Regions from separate parts of the Homo sapiens genome. Here all the other regions are linked to region 1. The links are contacts of gene promoters, found by promoter capture Hi-C in blood cells and fetal thymus (Javierre and others, 2016). All regions are on one chromosome and are shown on one strand. The core of a region is centred on a gene start or on the middle of the fragment in contact, and the rest is flanking DNA. Distances in the headings are between cores, read along the strand shown.

Evidence for each region. Contacts are between HindIII fragments. The CHiCAGO score rates a contact against its expected background, and 5 or more counts as called.
Region 2: a contact is called between a fragment that was not itself captured here and the fragment with the promoter of EDAR in region 1, in 7 of 17 cell types (M1 macrophages, M0 macrophages, naive CD8 T cells and 4 more). The highest score is 8.4, in M1 macrophages.
Region 3: a fragment that was not itself captured here is called in contact with the fragment with the promoter of EDAR in region 1 in 4 of 17 cell types (naive CD8 T cells, total CD4 T cells, non-activated CD4 T cells and 1 more); the score reaches 7.3 in naive CD8 T cells.
Region 4: a fragment that was not itself captured here is called in contact with the fragment with the promoter of EDAR in region 1 in 1 of 17 cell types (non-activated CD4 T cells); the score reaches 5.0 in non-activated CD4 T cells.

The regions. Positions count from the first base shown.
Region 1 is chr2:108,987,950-108,990,480 of GRCh38, forward strand. It overlaps EDAR (ectodysplasin A receptor), which reads right to left and starts at 1,271. Exons shown (of 12, transcript NM_022336.4): 1 at 1,011-1,271. It also overlaps a transcript of RANBP2 not described here. RefSeq lists an enhancer at 1-245. The HindIII fragment of the contact is 677 bases long and covers 879-1,555 here.
Region 2 is chr2:109,458,499-109,461,029 of GRCh38, forward strand. All of the region lies in intron 8 of SH3RF3 (SH3 domain containing ring finger 3), which reads left to right. It also overlaps a transcript of RANBP2 not described here. Among named protein-coding and RNA genes, the nearest start is that of MIR4266, 150 kb to the left of the region's middle. The HindIII fragment of the contact is 5,379 bases long and covers 1-2,531 here.
Region 3 is chr2:109,320,246-109,322,776 of GRCh38, forward strand. The region is part of intron 1 of SH3RF3 (SH3 domain containing ring finger 3); the gene reads left to right. It also overlaps a transcript of RANBP2 not described here. Among named protein-coding and RNA genes, the nearest start is that of MIR4266, 7.9 kb to the left of the region's middle. The HindIII fragment of the contact is 4,135 bases long and covers 1-2,531 here.
Region 4 is chr2:109,260,706-109,263,236 of GRCh38, forward strand. The region is part of intron 1 of SH3RF3 (SH3 domain containing ring finger 3); the gene reads left to right. It also overlaps a transcript of RANBP2 not described here. Among named protein-coding and RNA genes, the nearest start is that of MIR4266, 52 kb to the right of the region's middle. RefSeq lists an enhancer at 1-291. The HindIII fragment of the contact is 571 bases long and covers 974-1,544 here.

The sequences.
Region 1 (2,531 bases), core at 21-2,520:
GTCTATTATGGCTCTTCACTTCTTTGTTACACTTTCACTCTTGCTTAGAAAGTGTCTCAAAAATGCCACTTGAGAGCCACAGAGCAGTGGCCTGGGGACTGGGGAAGAGGACGGTGGTGCTCCTGTCTCTCCGTACGTCTCCTCACATGCGTGTACCCCTGGCTGTGTGGGATTGCCCACTGACCGGCATCTGCCCTGCTTGTTGATTTTAACTGTCCCTCTTGTTGCTGACCCAGCACAACATGGGCAGGGAAACCCAGTGGGAACCTCGCCTGCTGACCTCCCTGCCCAGCCACCCGCTTCTCCCTGAGCTGACATCTCAAAGCTTGGCTGCTGCAGGAGGCTGGGAATCAGAGCCGACTGAATCAGAGCCGACTCCTGTCTAGGAGCCCAACCCACCCCACGGTCTGTCAGAGTGTTGAGAGGAACCTCTTGGCTGGAAATGAAAACCTCAATCATCACAAATAGGTACCCACTCCCCTCCTTCTCTCCCTCTCCCCGCTCCCCCGCCACCAACACAGAGGCCAGGATATGGGGGGTCTCAGACACGACTGGAAACCCCACTTGGAAGGTCTCTTAGGTCACAGCGGGTACGCAGAGTTGGAGGCAGGTACAGAGCCCAGCTAGAGTCCCTGCCGCGCCTGCCTTCCCCAGTGAGCCGGGCACAGGGGCAAACCTGAGAAACATACTTTTCACGCTCCCTGGAGGAACCCGTTGCTTCAGTAGCCCAAATCTTAAAGCCTGTGAAGCACACACAGAATTTGTCTCCCTAACCAAATGTGCAACCAACAGCAAAACAGGGTTTCTGATGTTTTTCTAAAACAAAGGAACAATCTCAGGTCTTAGAACTGGTAGCGCAGACATACTGCAATCGGTAAAGCTTGTTCAAACGCAACCCAAAAATGACATGCATTTCAAAAATGCACCCAGCCTCTCTCCCAGCCCATGACACCTCCGTCTCGGCCACAGCTGAAGAGTTTAGAAAACCAGAGGAAAGGACCAGGGCTTACCTGGCTTCTGTTGGAGGTCAGCTTCAGTCCCAGCAGAAGATGGGTCTATGAAGAAAGTCAGGTACCATCCAGTTCTGGGTGACAGGCTTCACAGGTGGCCACCGTGGCAGCCCTCTCAGAAGCAGGTACTCTATGTCCTTAGGGGCCAGCAGGGCTGCCTGGGACCTGGCACACCTCTCTGACACTAGCCCCGCTTCCTTTCCGTTTAAAGGGCTTCCCGGGAACTCTTCCTTGACCGCTCCCTGCCCTGTCTGCAAGTTTGGAAACTCAGTCCTTGCCGAGGGGCTTTCCCTCATTGCAAACTCACCTGCACCATCTAGAGGTCTCTCCCAGCACTGGAGAGGCTGGAGCGGGCACGTTCAGCCCTGCTGCCATAGGTCCCTGGCACACCTGGCTCTCCGGCCGTCTGCCCCTTAAGAGATCTGTTGGAATGCGTAAAAATCATGGATTTTTTTTTTTGCAGGGGTGGGGGCCTTGCTTCTATCAGAGCCTTTAGGCGTGGGAGTGCTAAAAAGCTAAACTAGCATTAAAATATCATTAATCAAAGCTTGTTCGTAGAAGGACCCCCCACTGAGATGGCTACAGGCATGGGTGCCACTGCACGGATTCAGCTTCCAACATGTCTGTTCACATTCTCACCCATCCCCCGCACATCCCTCAGGGTTTGAGCCACCAGGACTGCTCTTCCTTTCCTCTCTCTGGACACCTCACACCACCAGTGTATACCCATGTAACTTCAGATAACCATACACACCCCCCGTATAACTAGGTAATTAGGAAGCCATTTGAAACATCAACATTTTGAAAGGACATACCTTTCAGTATTGGGCAATTATTTCTCAAAAAGTAAATGATTGGGGGGGGGAAAACAGCCTTAAAATAATGTCATTCTCTTGTCATTTTCTCCCTCATTCACACCTACACAGATAAATACAGGAACAGAGCAGCTCCTCCAGGCTAGATTTCTGTGTTCTCCTTTTCCATCTTGTCCCCTCTGCCTTGGAAACCTACAAGGTAACTCACACATGAGAAAGTAAGAGCTTAAGAAAGAAACAGTCTGGGCTCCGTGGCTCACACCTGTAACCCCAGCACTTTGGAGGCTGAGGCGGGCAGATCACTTGAGGTCAGGAGTTTGGGATCAGCCTGGCCAACATGGTGAAACTCCGTCCCTACTAAAAATACAAAAATTAGGCCGGGCGCGGTGGCTCACGCCTGTAATCCCAGCACTTTGGGAGGCCGAGGCGGGTGGATCATGAGGTCAGGAGATCGAGACCATCCTGGCTAACAAGGTGAAACCCCGTCTCTACTAAAAATACAAAAAATTAGCCGGGCGTGGTGGCGGGCGCCTGTAGTCCCAGCTACTCGGGAGGCTGAGGCAGGAGAATGGCGTGAACCCGGGAAGCGGAGCTTGCAGTGAGCCGAGATTGCGCCACTGCAGTCCGCAGTCCGGCCTGGGTGACAGAGCGAGACTCCGTCTCAAAAAAAAAAAAAAAAAAAAATATACAAAAATTAGCCGGTGGT
Region 2 (2,531 bases), core at 9-2,508, 470 kb after region 1:
TGGGAATACTATAAAAATTAATTATTGGTTTGTATCAGTCAGGGATCTCCAGAGAAACAGAACCAGCAGGAGACAGAGAGAGAGAGAGAGAGAGAGAGAGAGAATTTATTTATTTTAAGGAATTATGTGACTGTGGAGGCTGGCAAGCCTGAATTCTGTGGGGCAGCCCAGCAGGCTGGACCCTCAGTCAGGAGTTGCTGTGCAGTCTTGAGGCAGAAAATCATTGTCCACAGGATGCCTGTGATTGCTCTTAAGGCCTTCAGCTGATTGGGCGAGGCCCACCCACATTATCAAGGTATGTACTTTCAGTAATCTCTTTTACTTAAGGTAAACTGGCTGTAGATATTAACACATTTGCCAAATGCCTTCATAGCAACATCTAGATTAGTGTTTGCTCAAACAACTGGGTACCTGCCTAGCCACACTGACATAAAACTCACCATCACCGTCCATCCTTTGTCAGCTTGACATCTCCCTAAACTATACTTAGTTTCCACATAAAGACAAAAGCAAAGTCATACTTCTGCCTAATATGATACAACAAGCCTGACTACACCAAGAGTGCATGCGCCCTTCCCAGAAGAGGATTCAGAGTCTTTGAGTGGTGCTTCGTCTTCTTCTTGATATCTTGTAACTTAAATACTATCATATAATAATCATATCATATAAAGTCAGTGCAACTTATATTACATGGTGAGATAAGAGAGAGAAGAAAACAAAGGTACTGCTTAATATACACATTCACACAGACATATTCTTAACAAAATAGGAGGAAATACTTACAACAGTTACAATCCTCATTTCTGTAGCTGTTCACATGGTCATGGCTGGTATTTATAATTACTTTGTCTACTATCCAATCTGTATTCCCCTTCCCTTCAGAAAGCGCCTCATCTGGGCATGGACCCTTACCTGGTGGGGTGATCCAAACCTTCATTCCTGAAGGGACTGGGCCATTTTTAGTCCTGTCTGGATTGGGTGGTTATAGTTTTCCATTGACCTCAGTCACGGGGCATTGTGATTGAGAGCGTGCTAGGAGACACCCCAAGGGATCTCCTGTATCCCAGACATGCTCTTGCCCATGTCCACTATGGAGTGCAGTCCAGTTTCCCACGGTGGTCAGGATCAGTCACCCGAGCCAGCACAGTAGTTCCCGTTCCTGCCTTTGATTCTAAGCCACAAGGATCCCAAAGCGGCTGAGTGGCAGTCTTGAATTCCAGCTCAATGGAATCATTGTCATGTTTCCTGGTGGCAACATTCCTCCCCCTGGAACCAAGACCTCTAGACTAGTAGAACATAATGTTGTGAGAACAAGAAGCAGACATTTTGCTAGTGGGTTACTAGGGGTCATAATAAGTGGTGCTTCTCCCATTTCTGCCCCATGATTCCTGGGCCCATGAGTCCTGGCTGTAGGAGAAATAGCACCATATATTTGATGCTGATTCAGAGCATACCCAGCCTTCTGGAGAATATTGTCCCAGCCCTGCAAGGGACTGTCACCCAGCTGGTGCTGTAACTGAGTCTTCAAAAGGTCATTCTACATTCTGTCAAGCCAGCTGCCAGCATAATGGGGAACATGGTAGAGCCAGTGAGTTCCATGCACACGAGCCCATTGCTGCACTTCATTTGCTATGGAGTGAGCTCCTCAGTCAGAAGCAGTGCTGTGTGGAATACCGTGATGGTGGTTAAGGCATTCTGAAGTCCATGGATATTCACTTTGGCAGAAGCATTGTGTGTAGGGAAGACAAATCCATATCTAGAGTGAATAGTATCCATTCCAGGAAGGACAAAACACCATTGCCCCTTCCTTGATGGAGGTGGTCCAAGGTAGTCACCTTGCCCCCAGGTGGATGCTGACCATCTCAGGGAGTGGTGACATGCTGGGGACTCACTGTTGTTCTCTGCTGCTGGTGGATTGGACACAGTGGTAGTCGTAGCCAGGTTGGCCATGGTGAGTGGAAATCCATGATGCTGAGCCCATGCATCACCTCCATCCACAGTGGCCACTCTGTTCATGGGTCCACTGGGCAATGACAGGAATGGCTGAGGAAAGAGGCTCAGTCATTGACTGTGCTCCACAGAATCCCATCTGTGGAATTACTAAAGTCCTCCTCTGCTGAGGTCACCCTTTGGTGAGCATTTAAATGGCACACAAATTTCACCACATGTTTTCCCATTGAAAGAGGTCTTTTCACATGTGCTTTTCCAATTTCCTTGTCACCAATTTTCCAATTATGTTTCTTGCAAGTCCCTGACCAACCAGCCAAATCATCGGCCACAGCCTATGAATCATTAAACAATCACACTTCTAGCCACTTCTCCTTCCAAGCAAAGTGCACAACCAGGTGCATTCCTCAAAGTTCTGCCCACTGAGAGGCTTTCCCTTCACTGCTGTCCCTCAGGGATGTCCCAGAGAGGGGCTGCAGTGCTGCAGCTGCCCACTTTCAGGTGGTGCCTGCATATGGTGCAGAACCATCTGTGAACCAGGCTCAAGTCTTATCTTCCTGTGTGATCCTATGGAACTGCCCAGG
Region 3 (2,531 bases), core at 9-2,508, 330 kb after region 1:
CAGAGGAGGGCGGTGGGAATGAGAGCAGAGGTTTCCTTCCTGTTCTCTGCACAGCAGCCAGTGGCCACCTGGACTAGAGAGGGAGGTACAGGCCCTCACCCTTTCCCAAGCCCACCTGAGCAGCAGGTACAACGTTTGATCTCACCACAGTGAGTGCAAAACCATCCTTCCTGCTGGAACCACCGCAGGCGCCCATCCTCGGCAGTGAGCCACAACTTCCTCCTCACGTCTTCTTAACCAAGGCCAGTTATACCCTTTCATGCTCAAAGGGAGGCTGTCCTACCTGCTGGATACATGTTTGTTATCTGGGAGAAGTTTAGGCCTCTCCCCACCTAATCAGAATGTCTAAACCCTCTGCTTACTAGGTCACCAAAATCAGTGCTGGATTCCAGCTCTATAACACCCAATATGCACAACTGTTGTTCTTGTAAAATTACTGGCATTCCTCTTCTGTAAAGATATCAGCCCCGCAGATGAACAGACAAGTAAACAACGTCAGGCAGATGAACTTTCTGCTGGGAGAAAATAAAACTCGAGGCACATTGCTTTGCTTGCTGTACATGGACAGGCAGAGTGGTCAGATGGAATGGCCATGGATTCGGGCACCAGACCAAGATTCAAATCCCTGCCCTACGATACTCATCACCTGGGTTAACCTTCTGAACCACAAACACTTCATCTGTAAAGTGATGGTAATATTGCCATCTTGCAGGGTTTTAGGATATGGATTAGATTGTATGTAAGGCATCTACATACCTACATAGATTGTTCCATGGGAGCTCAAAAATGGCTGCTCTTACTGATAACTTATAGACATGTAAGTAATGATTACTACTGATAATGATTAGTGATAAGTAGTATTCATGGAAGAAAGACTCACGGACACACAAGACGCCATGTGCATGGATGCACCTCTCAAACGCTTCTTTGCAGCTCTTCACATTCTTTGAGGTATGCAGTCAGTAATAGAACTCAAACCTTATATCCTCGGATTCACTTTTAATTAGGCTGTTCTCATTAAAACGCCATTCCTTTATTGTCTTGCCACTTAATTTAGTAAATTGGTAGAGCAAATGTGGCATGCAGATTGCCTCTTCCATACCAGAACGTCATCATTCATTGCCAAAGCCTATGTGGATTAGGAGCATTTGAAGTGGAAATTAGTTGAGTTCAGGGCATACAGTTGTTGAATTTTGATTATCAGCTTATAGTATTTTTAAAATTAGATTATGCTTTGTTTCCATTTAACAAAGGAAGATAAATGTTGTGGTTGATGTTTTTATTAAAATAGAAATTTAACAAACATTCTCCAATAACTGGATGGATTACAGGAGATGAGACAATCAATAGAGGATTACATTTTGCAAAGCCAATTTAGGAACCTTGTCTAGATAAAACCCTCTTGTGGCAGAAGGGATCTGGCAAAAATGAATAAATTTGTAATAAGTGTCAACCCTGGCCCCCTGCCGTGCAACTCAAGTATAGACAGATTTTTGGAGGGAAGATCTACTTCCAACTACTGTTATTCTGCTAGAGAGATGTGTTCGCGAGGGATTGGTCACATTTTGACATCAGAGGCTGGCCATGACAATCCCAAGGTTCTGCCAAATTCCAGTGGATTCCCACTGCTTACTTCAAGTCCCAGTGTGGTCAGGACTTCAGGACTTCTCTGAAGGGGAGATGGGGCCCTTTTCTGGAGGATCAGAGCTCTGAAGATGATTGGTCCTCGTTATTCAGTATGAAAGCAAATACCACATTTCAAGAAGTGGATGGCTCTTTTTAAAATAAGTCACCTTGGCAACTGGAAGGCACAGCAAGGAGCGAGAAAGGGTAAGGGAGAGAAGCGGGGAGAGGGAAAGAATGAGGAAAGGGAAAAAGAAGGGTAAGGAGTAAGGGGGAGGAAGAGAGAGACAAGACACGGATACACAGGAGACTCAGCGCCCCTTCAAGCATTCTGGAATCCCCCGAATAATCACCACTCCTTCTCCCTTCTTGCTGGAACTTTGTGTATTTTGCATTTCCTGTTGAAGTCATAAATCCAGATCCTGCTCTGTAAACCCATGGAGTCTGAGGGCAGCCAGGGCCGGCAGAGGCAGAACATTTCAACATGTGCCGAAATGTTCCCACAGGCAGACTAGGCAGTTGGGGTGGCAGGAATCCAGGAGCCTGAACTAGGAGGCGGGTGAGTTGTCTTTGCCTGAGAGTTGAGCTTAAATCAGCCAATAAAATTGTCCATCTTAAGGAAGCTGAAATTTCTAAATAAGCCTATAAATAATTTCACAAATAGGGCCTGTGCTGTGTAATAGTGTGCACTGATTTTGAGAGTTACTGCAAGAATAAATTTGCTGAATGAATAAATCTGCAGTAGTCGCCAGTCAAATGTCAAAGGCTGGTCTCCAGCAGAAATAACCTTTTAAAAAGGACTCATTAGCTGAGCACACAGGGCACCCACATAAGTGATTTCTAATTCATTAAGAGGTAGATGATCAGCTCATATTTTGCTTTTCCAGCAAATAAGGATTCAAATAAGA
Region 4 (2,531 bases), core at 9-2,508, 270 kb after region 1:
TTGCAATCTTATGGCCTGATACTGTCCATGGGCAATCCAGGGACAGAAGGCACGGAAACTTCAGGTGACCCTAGCGTGTGTCTGAACCAAGTTCCTAAGTGCATGGTTTCAGGGGAGGGACTTCTTCCTCCCCTACAGAGAGTAATGGAAGGTAAATGGTTGAAGCCAGGCAGGCAGGTGACTTCAGAACCCCATCCTGCCTCTGCTGTGAGAGGAAGGCCACTCTGTTTACAAGCAGTGAGGCTGGACTGTTTGAGGTGTTCTCAGCCCCATGTGCCCTTCTCTGGATGGAGAGCCTTTCCCTCCCTTTAGAGGGCACTGTGTCTGCAGGAAGGAGGTCAGTAGCATGAGCACTTGGCCTGAAGTGTCTTACACGGGTCCATTTCTGCCAAGACGCCCAATGGGGGCCCAACAGCCAGGCCCGTGAGCTAGCCTTCTGTTGTGTGGACACATCAACATTTCTGGCTCTGTCACACAGGTATGGTCAGGGCCCTTTGTAGTTGCATAGGTGTAAAGCGAGGGCCCTGGCTGATGGCTCTTCCTGTCAAGCAGAACAAAGCAATGATGTGGAGGTGATTGTCCCCTCCCCAGGGCTCCAGGAAGCCTTGATCCGCACACTGTGCTGAACAGCACACAGCAAGAGCTCTAGTTAATCATGAGGATTAAATTGTGTTTGTTTTCATTGTAATTACAGCAGAGCAGTAAAATGTGCAGTCTGTGGAGCTGGACAGGCAGAGGTCAAGGATGTTTGCTTCTTGGCTTTGGAGGTGTCAGACGTGTGTGAAATATGCTCAGCCTCCCACCTGTGTGTGCAGCAGCCAGGCACCTCCCATCTCCCAGGGACAAACACAAACAAGTGCATTCGAAGGGAAGGGTGTGCCCAGAAAGAAGTGGCATGGGGCTGCAGGTGGTGTTCAGTGTTCATTGAGACTCTGATGGCTGTGTGCTGGCCAGGCCCCATGACGACAGGTAAAGCTTAGGACTCTTATTGAATTGGGTGTGTATTTAAAATTTGGCTCATTGAGAATCAGTGTAATCGGCAGGCATTTCAAGCCTTTGTCATGGATTTATACAGTGTTTGGGAGGTGGGTCACCCTACTGGTCAGCCTCCCCACCCCTTCACTTATAGTAGGGAAACTGAGGCTTGCCTTTTTTTTTTAAATTTATTAATTGGGCTCTCTGCTGATACGAGACATGTTGATGCATTCAGTGTGGTGTGTATTAAGATCTTTACTGGATGTGTAGCATTCCACTTCATTACATCAGAGGAAGGGCCACAAAGCTCTATAAAACCAGGTCCCCTAAGAGTGGCTAGAGCAGGAGACAGGTCGGTGGCCCGGCTGCTGATGCACCAGCCCCAACGGTGCCAGCAAGCATGAGCAAGCCCACAGGTGCCCTCGGCCTCAGGGCAGGAAAGCCCTGGGAAATGCTTATTATTACAGTGCTGGGGTCTTTCCTGTTATGGTTACAGTTGTATTTGTCTAACAGTCTTATTTAAAGAAGACCAACATCATGATTCTGCATTTAACCATCTGAGGCTTGAAAGCTTGGAGAGAAACCAGTTGTCTAAGTGGTTTGTAAATGGGAGAGATAAATGTCTCGAGTAACCACGGTGGAAAAGCACCAGGAGGGTGGTGCTTTCACTGTACCTGGGGGCAGCCATGCTGATTGCAGGAGCTTTGGGGTTACTGCCTTCAAACTCTGCTTTCGATGCCCTGGGAACCTCTCATGGTGCCTGTGGGGTACCCAAGAGCCCATAGGACAGTGTCCGGAGGCCCCACTCTCTGCAGCCAGGTAAACCTACCCAGGCCCTTTCCTTGCGGCCTCATCCTTCAAAGGTTTTCTTGTTTTATTATTTTACGTAATGTTGTTTCTTTTAAAGAAGCTGAGAAATGAAAGAGCAATTGTATGTCTACAACTTTTGTGATATTAACCTTATTTTGAATTTCTGGTTTACCCCATTTGTGTTGGTGCATTCAAGTTATTATCAGGAGATAATTCTTTATCCGCAAATAGCTTTGTTCTCACTTACCTCCTTGGTTCCATTATTGGAAAATATATTACATTTATATATGTAATGGGCCCAATGATAAAATTATATTTTTATTTTCATACAAGACTTTCTTTTTTCTTTTTTATTTTTTTGAGACAGAGTCTTCCTCTGTTGTCCAGGCTGGAGTGCAGTGGCATGATCTTGGCTCACTGCAACCTTTGCCTCCCGGGTTCCAGCAACTCTTCTGTCTCAGCCTCCCACGTAGCTGGGAGTACAGGTGCCCGCCACCACACCTGGCTCGTTTTTTGTATTTTTTTTTGTATTTTTGGTAGAGACAGGGTTTCACCATATTGGCCAGGCTGGTCTCGAACTCCTGACCTTAGGTAATTCACCCACCTCGGCCTCCCAAAGGGCTGGGATTATAGGCGTGAGCCACCACGCCCAGCCGCAATCACTTTGTTAAATGAGTTAAGAACGGCAGAGACATGTGCATTCATACTATCTTTTATAATGACCCGGCTGTCTTTACTAGTGCTCT